Regions from separate parts of the Homo sapiens genome. Here region 1 is linked to region 2. Evidence: promoter capture Hi-C in 16 types of primary human blood cells and fetal thymus (Javierre and others, 2016). All regions are on one chromosome and are shown on one strand. Each heading gives the region's core, a stretch centred on a gene start or on the middle of the fragment in contact. The rest is flanking DNA. Distances are from core to core; before and after follow the strand shown. Region 1 overlaps UBR5 (ubiquitin protein ligase E3 component n-recognin 5). Region 2 holds the start of ODF1 (outer dense fiber of sperm tails 1).

Evidence for each region. Contacts are between HindIII fragments. The CHiCAGO score rates a contact against its expected background, and 5 or more counts as called.
Region 1: a contact is called between a fragment that was not itself captured here and the fragment with the promoter of ODF1 in region 2, in 1 of 17 cell types (endothelial precursors). The highest score is 5.2, in endothelial precursors.

Annotation. Positions count from the first base shown.
Region 1 is chr8:102,264,548-102,269,978 of GRCh38, reverse strand. UBR5 (ubiquitin protein ligase E3 component n-recognin 5) reads left to right here. Exons shown (of 59, transcript NM_015902.6): 51 at 871-1,001; 52 at 2,972-3,032; 53 at 4,701-4,879; 54 at 5,421-5,431. Among named protein-coding and RNA genes, the nearest start is that of UBR5-DT, 28 kb to the right of the region's middle. The HindIII fragment of the contact is 1,160 bases long and covers 3,288-4,447 here.
Region 2 is chr8:102,549,416-102,554,762 of GRCh38, reverse strand. ODF1 (outer dense fiber of sperm tails 1) reads right to left here and starts at 3,174. Exons shown (of 2, transcript NM_024410.4): 1 at 2,716-3,174. The coding sequence starts at 3,035. LOC124901998 (a long non-coding RNA gene) reads right to left here. Exons shown (of 3, transcript XR_007061039.1): 2 at 4,954-5,065; 3 at 4,167-4,256. It overlaps LOC105375684 (a long non-coding RNA gene), which reads left to right and starts at 4,135. Exons shown (of 2, transcript XR_928478.3): 1 at 4,135-4,220. The HindIII fragment of the contact is 343 bases long and covers 3,167-3,509 here.

The DNA of each region.
Region 1 (5,431 bases), core at 2,618-5,117, 290 kb after region 2:
AAAGATGGTGTTTAAAAAAAATTGTCAGCTACTGGCAAAACCACATGATTGAGGACTCTTTTTAGCTCTGCAGTAAGAAGGAAGCTCAGGAGAGAATAAGGCAGTGTTTACTGAAGGGTAACTGTATAGCTTGAATTTATTTTTTCCTCCACCCACCTTATGTTGGGACACTGTCTCCATTCTACCTTCCTTGCATGCTAAAGAATTTGCTGTGCATTATATTTATTGTATCTTCATTTGAACAAATTATTACTACTTTTGGAGCAGACTTTATCTGTTAGCAAGCTGTAGTTGGAACACATTAATGCTGATTAGTATTGCAGGAAGAATTTTATTTTGAATGTTCTATCAAGAGTTTTTCTTTATATGATATGAAACACAAATTAGTTATGTTTTTTGTCTTTATGCATAACTGTATGTACACATTTTATAGTGAAAGAATAACAGAAAACTATTATTTCTTCCAGCAAGTCCTCAGCCTTAAACATAGGTATATTTTTCTCTACCCTACCCCCTTCTTTTTTTCTACCCTAAATAAAAGATATTTCTGGCTCTCTGATGAAGAAAAAAATATGGAAATTGAGTATATGTATGTTTAACTCAGAGATATAAAAAAACCTAAAAAGAAAACTTGTCATACAAATATTATAAGTAGCCTTAACAAGATGTGGTACTGCATGGACTGTTTATTCCCTGCCAAGTTTCTCTATAATTGATCTTCCAGTTTCATAAAAGACCTTACTGGTTCTGAAATTTTGTATTTGTTACCCAAGTTTCTTATTTTATTTTTTTTTTAAATAAAAGATTGTAGATGTAATTAGACAAGAGGTTTTAGAGAGTAGTCAAGTAACATTTGTTCATCATTTACAGGCATTTGCAAGTAAAATCACTGGCATGTTGTTGGAATTATCCCCAGCTCAGCTGCTTCTCCTTCTAGCAAGTGAGGATTCTCTGAGAGCAAGAGTGGATGAGGCCATGGAACTCATTATTGCACATGGACGGTAATGTGTACAATTGGGAAGGCATTTCAGTTTAAACATCAGCTACTTACTTTCAGTATGTGGGTGCCATCATATCTTAAAATTTATGTCATAAAGTATAAGACTTTAAATGCATTTTTATTTATTTTTTAAATGATAGCTTAAATTCCATGAATGAGACAGCTTAGTTTCTTCTCATGTATTAGAAAGGTAGGGTTTTAATAGTTACCAAGGTTATTTGGAAATTACTTGAAAGAAAGTACATCTCAAATTCACTTATCAGAATACCCTCCTGGCAAAGGCCATACATATTATACTGTGTTCTTGCCATAACCATGACATTTCTTTTAGGCTTCCTGATTTGTCTTAAAAATTCATGGAAGTTTTTGCTTTCTATTCTGTAAAGTATGAATTTAATATAAAATCTAAAAAATATCTAACAGATTACATATCCCTTTTTCCAAGGTGACAAGTAAAAGTGACTTAGGAAGATAAGGCCGGGTGCGGTGGCTCTCACCTGTAATCCCAGCACTTTGGGAGGCTGAGGCGGGCAGATTGCCTGAGGTCAGGAGTTCAAGACCAGCCTAGCCAACATGGTGAAACCGTATCTCTACTAAAAAAAAAGTTAAAAGTGGCTGGGCACGGTGGCTCATGCCTGTGATCCCAGCACTTTGGGAGGCCAAAGCGGGTGGATCACGAGGTCAGGAATTCGAAACCAGCCTGACCAACATGATGAAACCCGTCTCTACGAAAAATAGAAAAATTAGCCAGGCATGATGGTGGGCGCCTGTAATCCTAGCTGCTCGGGAGGCTGAGGCAAGAGAATAGCTTGAACCCAGGAGGGTGGAGCTTGCAGTGAGCCAAGACCATGCCATTGCACTCCAGCCTGGGCGACAGAGCGAGACTCCATCTCAAAAAATAAATAAGTAAATAAATAAATAAGCTGGGTGTGGTGGTGAGCACCTGTAATCCCAGCTACTCGAGAGGCTGAGGCAGGGAGAATTGCTTAAACCCGGGAGACAGAGGTTGCAGTGAGCTGAGATTGCGCCACTGCACTCCAGCCTATGTGACAGAGCGAGCCTCTGTCTCAAAAAAAAAGAAAAAAAAAGGGAAGATAGGTCACATTTATGCTGTAGTTTCTATCCTGGGGCTAATCTGATACCCAGTTTGAAACTTTGAAGTGTTTATTATTTTAGATGAAAAGTTGTATTTTTTTCTTCCTAATGAGTTAGGAATTTAGATTAGATACACTCCTAGAGATGTATAAGCTGGTAGGCTGGGCACTAGAGCTAAACAGCCACTTCTAGAGCCTTTTAATGGTCCAAGCCAAAGACTGTTGAGAGAACTGTATTTTCTTTGCTGATGCTCTTTTCTTCTCTGGATTTTATGTACTGTTCGTTTATTCCTCTGCCCTGTCTCTGGAGCTACTGCATACTGGTATAGCTTAGTCCATTATAGAAAAATCAAGAACAATGTACATTTTTGGTGAAAAGATTTTTGTGAGTATATGTTAAGAGTTGCGTATTTAGTCATGTTTTCTGTTGAATGCAACCAATGTACAATATTGACAGCTTTCACCTGGCTTTCTGGAGTAAACAGTGAATTTATTGGTGTTCTAGAATCATTAAATTCGCTAGAGAATTTGCTAGTGAATTTGGATTGCTTTCTGAACATTTTTCTGTTCTTCTGTAGTGCTCCCTCTGAGCATTGTAGAAGTGTTCCAGCACCCCTATGAAGACCACATTCATTTTGTCAGGGAGCCTTTAGTCCACTATCTTGAATCATACATGAAGGATCTAGTGATACACTTTTTTAAAGATTTGTATTACCAACTTCTCTGCTCATACTGCATTAGTACTAGCAGGTGCATTGGATATTTATTGACTCCAAAACTTGAATGTATTTTGTAAGTAAGTCCTTTTAAATTTAAATTATACGCTAAATTCTAGAAGTCTCCGTTATCTGGAATGTGAAAGGCTTTTTGTTTTTAGGGAAAATGGAGCTGATAGTATCCTGGATCTTGGATTAGTAGACTCCTCAGAAAAGGTACAGGTAAGGAACATTTTATTCATGTGCTGATAATCACAGAATTTAAATTACAAGGAAATTTCAATAAAGGGGATGAAAGCAGGATTTCTGAAGAAACTGTCTTTATAAATAAAATGAATGTTTACAGTAGAGAGACAGAAGCAAAGATAAATATATCGGTATTATGCATAGAATCAAATAATAAGCTTGGCTTAATTAGGGCTCAGTATAATCCCACCCATTGGTTGGCATCCATTTGAGCACAGCTTGAATTAAGCTTTACTTTGAATAAGTAACAAATTGAAGAACAGAGAGGGAAAGATGTATAGAATCCTAGGACTAATTCACCAGGTGTGGTGGCTCACGCCTGTAATCCCAGCCCTTTGGGAGACCGAGGTGGGCAGATCACGAGATCAGGAGTTCTAGGACTCCTGGGACTCATTCTTCAAAGAAGTAGCTGGTGCCAACATTGCAAAAACAAGTGACATATCATGCTATAGCATAAGGAAGCCTTTTTAGTTGGCATTGAAACAATTGCACATAGAAGGTGAGACTTCCAATTTGAACCTAAGTAGGTTGATTGCCTACTAAATTCATATTAATTTACTAAGACTCAGAGTTTTCACAACTAATTCACAATGCCCAGGATACACTCTAAAATTACTCAGCCTACAAAGAACCAGGAAAAACTGGATCCACCTCTCTCAGGAAAAGAACCAATAGATGGCAACCACGAGATGACCCACTTGTTGGAATTATCAAAGACTATCCCATGTTCTGCAAGATAATGGTGAACACTGGTGAATGGAAAGACAGAGGTTCTCAGCAGACACACACAGGAACTTCAAAAGAGAACAAAGGGAAATTTTTAGAATTAAAAGGGCAATATCTAAAAGAAAAAAATTCACAGGATGCATCAATAGCTGAATGAAGGTGTTGGAGGAAAGTGTCAGTCAGCTTGAAGATAGATGGAAATTACCCTTTCTGAAGAACAGATAGAGAAAATATTTTAAAACAAAAGGACAGTTTCAGGGAGACCTGTGGGACAACTTCAAAAGATCTAACATATATGTCACTGAAATACTCAGGGGAAGAGAAGAAATTGCTATAGAAAAAATATTTGAAGAAATAAATCATGGCTGGGCACTTCCTAAATTTGGTAAAAGACATAGATTTCCAGATTCAAGAGTCAGTGAACTCAACAGAATAAACTGAAAGAAAACTATGTCCAGATACATTATAATCAAACTTCTGTAAAATAAAGAAATGTTATTGAAAGCAGCCAAAGAATGGTTCTTTACCTATAGGGAAACAGTGATTTGAAAGAGTGGATTTCTCACTATAAAGTATGAAAGCCAAAAGTCAACAAACTCATCAAAGTGATGACAGAATTCTGTATCCAGTGAAAAGAATTTTCAGGCAATAAAGTGAAAGAAGCTTATCCGAGTTTCATTAAATGACTTTATTTTAACAACAGAGACGTTAAAGACCTAATAATACACAAGCTTTGTGTGTCACATTCTGAAAGGGCAAATTAAAAGTTCATTTACCTTTAATATTGTTATACACATATATTTAAATATTTATGTTGCTCTTCCTACCTGACTTCATTTGAATGATTTGAGAGAACCATTTCATATGTTTTGTTTTTTCAGTGAATCTTGGGGCTTACTCTCTGATATTCTCTGTTAGCAGGAAAACCGAAAGCGCCATGGCTCTAGTCGAAGTGTAGTAGATATGGATTTAGATGATACAGATGATGGTGATGACAATGCCCCTTTGTTTTACCAACCTGGGAAAAGAGGATTTTATACTCCAAGGCCTGGCAAGAACACAGAAGCAAGGTTGAATTGTTTCAGAAACATTGGCAGGTAAAAGAACTTTAATCTTGGGTTTGAATTTTTTAAAACATTTCAATTTATGAGATTTTCTAAAATATATTTGTTTTAAAATGTATGTACGCTGGGTGCGGTGGCTCACACCTGTAATCTCAGCACTTTGGGAGACTGAACTGGGAGGATCACTTGAGCCCAGGAGTTGGAGACCTGCCTGGGCAACATGGCGAAACCCTGTCTTTACTAAAAATAAAAAAATACTAGCGGGCATTGTGCTGCAATGCCTGTAGTCCCAGCTACTTGGGAGGCTGGCGTAGGAGGATGACCTGACTGTGGCACTGCACTTCAGCCTGGGTTGACAGAGTGAGACCCTGTCTCAAAAACAAAACATTCTCAGGCTGGTGTTCCTGTTTTTTTTTGTTTTGTTTTGTTTTTTGAAAAAGTGTATGTGCTGTACTTTATGCTGAATAGAAAGGAGGCTGTAGAGAATTTCTCAAAATATTAATACGTATTATGTGTGGGGGGATATATGTATTCTAGAATTATTTAAATCTTATTTCTCTGTGTTTGTTTTTAGGATTCTTGGAC
Region 2 (5,347 bases), core at 1,925-4,424:
CAGGCTGGTCCCAAACTCCCGGACTTGAGCAATTCTCCTATTACAGCCTCCCAAAGTGCTGAGATTACAGGTGTGAACCACTGCACCCAGCTTGGATTGGATTTTCTATGCCCAGTCTAAGAAAACACCACACACATGCATCAATCAAATAACATATAGTCAGGAGTGCTCAAGAAACCTGTGGGATCAATTAAGAAATTGTTGGTTGAGGCTTTTTACCAGTTATTAAAGGAGGACCCAGAGACACAGCAGATTGACTGTGACACAGAAAAACAGTTTCAAGGGGGCCAAGGCAACTATAGACTATAGAGTCTTTACTTCATATTGGGCAAAGAACCTTCTGGACAACACAGCCTGCCATCTGAAAGGATATGTCATAACTAACCAACCCCCTTGCATTCTTTAAAGGGGAGGAAGGTCATGTGAATATGAATTCTAAACTCAAAAAGCCTTGGGCAAGCTTTCACACCAAAGATTGTTTTAAAAAATTGAATCAACATGATATTTCTGCATCTATTTAGTTATGGATCAGGCGCTAGCTTAGAGATAAGAATAAAAGGCACTGCACTAGAAGAAAAAATACTACACTGGGGGCCTTCTGGGACTGAGGCTAGAATCAGGGTTTAACATTTTCACCCATATTCAGGAAAATTGAATATTTAGGTTTGCAAGTGACACTAAGCCCTTCTGGAGAGTGAAATGTCAAGTTGTCAGAAATAGAGCATAGAAATTTCACAAGGTGGTGTGAATTGGAAGAGATAAAGCGGACAAGCCTGAGGTCATTTCTACAATGGACTTGGAGTTATCATTTCCGAGATCCAGAAATTAATGTAAAGACATCACCAGCTTCACATATTGCCTGCAGGCAGAGAAAAAATAGGCAAAGACCCAGACGCTGTCAGGAAGAGCATCACAAACCAGAGAAAACATTACCTCTTGCCTAAACTACACTGCCGAGAATTAAGCTTGAAGCTGTTTCTACTGCATGCCAAGAAACAAGGCTTCTGAAAGAGGCATCAAGAGAGTAGACAGCACAGGACAGAGAGGGATTTTAATTGGTAGAGTCTGGGGATAGGAGAGAAGCCAGGAAGACAGAGGCTGGAAAGACCTGGACAAGGGTATTCAAGTATCCAAAAGTAGGAGGAGAGTGGATACTGATCTGCTCACAAGGAAACCTTAACTTGGACCAAATATTTTAAAAAGAGTCCCTGCCTCACAGTGTGAGCAATTTATGTGACTTGATGCCCTAAGAAATAAAAACAAACATTGGTTCAAAGAGTATAGATGAATTTACAGGTGAAAGCTCCCAGGCTATGAGGGAGGTTCATTCCTGACCATTGGTGGCTGGTGACCTAGACAATAATTATCCTTTTTTTTTTTTTTTTTTTGAGACAGTCTCACTTTGTCACCCGGTCTGGAGTGTAGTGGTGCAATCTTGGCTCACTGCAACCTCTGCCTCCTGGGTTCAAGTGATTCTCCTGCCTCAGTCTCACGAGTAGCTGGGATTACAGGCACGTGCCACTACGCTTGGCTAATTTTTTTTTTTTTTTTTTTTTGTATTTAGTAGAGATGGGGTTTCACCATGTTAGCCAGGCTGGTCTCGAACTCTTGAGCTCAGGTGATCTGCCCGCCTCCGCCTCCCAAAGTGCTGGGATTACTGGCATGAGCCAATGCACCCGGCCTCCTATTGCTTTTTCCAAAGAAACATCACTGTCACTGTTGTCAAGAGACTCTATCTATCTATCATCTATCTATCTATCTATCTATCTATCTATCTATCTATCTGTCATCTGTCTATCAGTTTTTCTGCACTTTGCTTGTTTGACTTAATACATCAATATGTAAGATGCTTCATCAATCCTTTCTATATTTACTTATTATTCCAGTGCATGAATGTATTATTTATTTAACCAGGGACAGCACTTTCAACCATCTTTTTCATCAACAGTAACAGACTAAATGGCATATGTAAAAAGTTAGAAAAGGAAAGTTTTCTCCAGGCAAAAAGAAAATATAATCTAAAACAAAAATTTTTTTAAAAAACTGACTCTTTTTAATTACCCAATTCAATTAAAAAGCCTTTCAAGTCTATCCTGAAAGCTACAACTCAGTGCCATAGTTTATTTGCAAGACCTTTGCTAGAGTTAGAGGGGAGGCCAACATGATAGACCTAATTCCAGATACAAGGTAAGTCTTTGCCTGGAGTGGGGGGATAGGAGAATGATATTCCCACAAAACCAAGGCAATGCCTCTACTGTTCAATTTGCTCTCCTGCTTGTAAAGCCTCTGGCACACATTAAGGATTTGATCTATTATTATTACTTCTCCTGTAGTCATTTCTGTAAGTCCAAATATACTCAAATCACTTTACTCATAACCAGGAAAAATGTTTAGTTTGCTGCTTCCAATGGCTTTTTAATGACACCCCCTGTTTCTTCCCTTCATTAAAGCCGCATTATTTATCATACTGGCATTCTTGCTATAAACCACCGACGACCTTGCCAATCGACATCATTACATTGTCTTTTGAGAACCCTACAATTCCCATCATGGACTCATTTACTCTTCTTTCCTTAAATCTTTCCTAAGTCACCAGGGTCATTATCCTGAACCCTTTTAATCTTTGTTCAACTATTGATTGTCACATATTTTTCCTTATTCCAACTTATAAGGCTAATATACCGACTATAAAAATTTAAAAATAAGTTATTTTACTTGGCAAGCTCTCGCTTCTCATCTTCTATGGCTCTGATGGCTTTCCTCTCCAAACTTCTGAGAGATGGTCGCAGACAGTAAAGCTTATAATCACACAGGCAACATGGGTAGAGATCACACAGGCCGCAAGAGCGTGATCGCTTGGAATAGCACAAGCAGTACGGATATGGGTGCAAGTCACAGCAGCAATAGGGGTGCATATACAAGTCGCACAGGCACCGTGTGCTAAATTCGTCGATGCATCTCAGTTGCCTTAGTTCTCTGTCCACCTTCTTTATGTCCCTTCTGACACTGTCCAAGAGACAACTCAGTGCAGCCATTATGGTCACACCTGATTGTTCTGTGAGTACCTTTGGGAAATGGCACTCCGGGAAAAAATTTGTTCTAAGCCCTTCTCAGAAGTTGCTTTTAAAAATAAATGAGGCACACATGATTCACTTACTTTAAAGCTTGTGTTCTATGACCTCACCACCTTCTGAAGTATGTCATAGTCTTCTGGTTACCATGTGAACTGTACACAGTCATGGTCTCCAGAGACCATCCTCAGAGTTACAGAGCTACTCTCAGAACCATACTCGTGTTGAGATTTCACTCACCTTCAAGGAGGATGGGTCTCCCAAGCGAGCATAGCTCATCGGGGTGCATGGGGCTGGCCACTAACATCCTTGCCTTGTGTGTGCTCTGGGGACCAGCCATGGCTATGACTGTGTGTTTGTTGAACTTGGTGCAGGCGAAGGCAGGAGCTGCCCACGCCTTTCTCCATGACCTTCTAGCTCTAGCCTTGATTGGAAGCTTGGCCTTGCTCCTTTTGTTCTAGAATTCATTCTGTCTCCAGACAGGTAGAATATAAAGAATGTTCTCATCATTCTCCTCCTACCAAGTCATCCTCAAGTCAGCCATTGTCCTTGACCTTCTGAGTTACAAGTCTCTGAGTCCTGCCCATTCTGCGCCAGCTGTGGTCATGGCTGTTCGGGAACCTCATTTCTCTACTGGTTGGGGGTCCTGTCCTTAAGCTCCCATCTGTCAGTCCTCGGGGGCCTGTCCTGGGGAACTACCTCCCATCAACTACACCTTTGGTCTTGCATCCAAGCCTCCGGATGTCTTGTCCCTGAGTGCTTCCCAAATGTTGGTCTTTGATGTTCTTGTAGCCAACCGCCTGAAGATGCTGGAAGCCAACTGCCTGAAACCCCCGCTTCGGCCAGTTTCCTTTACTTTCTGTTCAGTTAACATCCTAGACCTCTGATTCGGCCTCAGATTTGGCTCTCGGTGCCTCTACTCCTCTGGTCCTTTCACCTCAAACTGCGGTCCAGCTCTCGAGTCTCCCTTGTATGAACTAGAGCTCAGGTATTGATGACAAGTGGTTGGATGTGACACTGGTGAGGGAGACAAGGGCCAGGTTTGAAGGGACCTGTAGCCAGACTAAGGACTCTGAACTTTATTTTGAGCCCAACGAAGGATTGTTGATTTTCTTTTCTTTTGTCAGAAGTGAGACAGCCACACTGAAGGTAAGTTGCTAGGGACAATAGTAGTGGGGTTTTCTGCTGCAAGACAAGAAGAGACAACAAAAATCTGGACTGGGGATCATGGCTATGGGGATGGCAAGGAGGAAGCCAATGGGAAAGCCTTCCCCCACCTCTGCCCAGGCCCCATCTAATCCATTTTCCACATTGTAGCCACAGCGACTTTCATATAGAAATCTGTCATTCCTCAACCTTCCCCACCCATCATCCCACTCACCTTAAAAGTCTTCTCTGTCCTCTCAAAAAAAGGACCAAAATCTTTACCAGGTGCTGAGCAATGGGGCCTCTCCCACTTCCCCACTCTCCTCTCCCATCCTAGTATTATTGCAATTCATTACCCCTCAGCCACGATGGCCTTCCTGGAAGACCACTCACTTTCCAGAGGCCGTTCCTTAGTCCCTTGAAGGACATTCCTCATTCCTTCCACCTCATTCAGAGCTCATACACAGGACGTTCTGCCTGCTTAGAAATTGAACTCCCCACCTATGACTTTCATCCATTTAATTCTTAAGGCACCCTTTAGATCTCCCCCTTTCTTGGGGAAGCCTTCTCTGTCTCCCAGACTAAACACTCTCTTAACTTAGGATACATTTCCTTCATGATATTGTTTCCCCAGCTGGACTGTAAGCCACGAGGGCAAGGACCTTGTCTATTTTTGCTTCGCAGTAGATACCTAACACAATGCCTGGCACATAGCAGGTGCTTGAAATGTACTCACTGAATGACCATCTGGGTGAATTCAACAGGATTTAGTGAACAGAGTGAGGATGGAGTGAGGGAGGAATCAGTGGTGACTTCCAGCTTTCAAGCTTGGCAGACTCTTGGTGCCACTGAGATAAAAATAACACAGGGAGAAGAGTAAGTTTGGGGATTTGGTGAACAGGTGGTGCTGGTGACAACTTTAAGGTAGAAATCTGGAGTATTCTGTGGATAAGAGGGTCTGGAATTTGAGGAAAGCCTGGGCTAGAGATATAAATTAGGAAGCCACAATTCCATAGGTAGTTGGAACCCTGGAAACAGGCAAGATAATTCAGAATTTAAAAAGAGAGCTGAAGCCGACTCCCAGGGAAAAATAAGTAGAAATGAGGAGAGTGAAGGAGTCCATGAAAGGC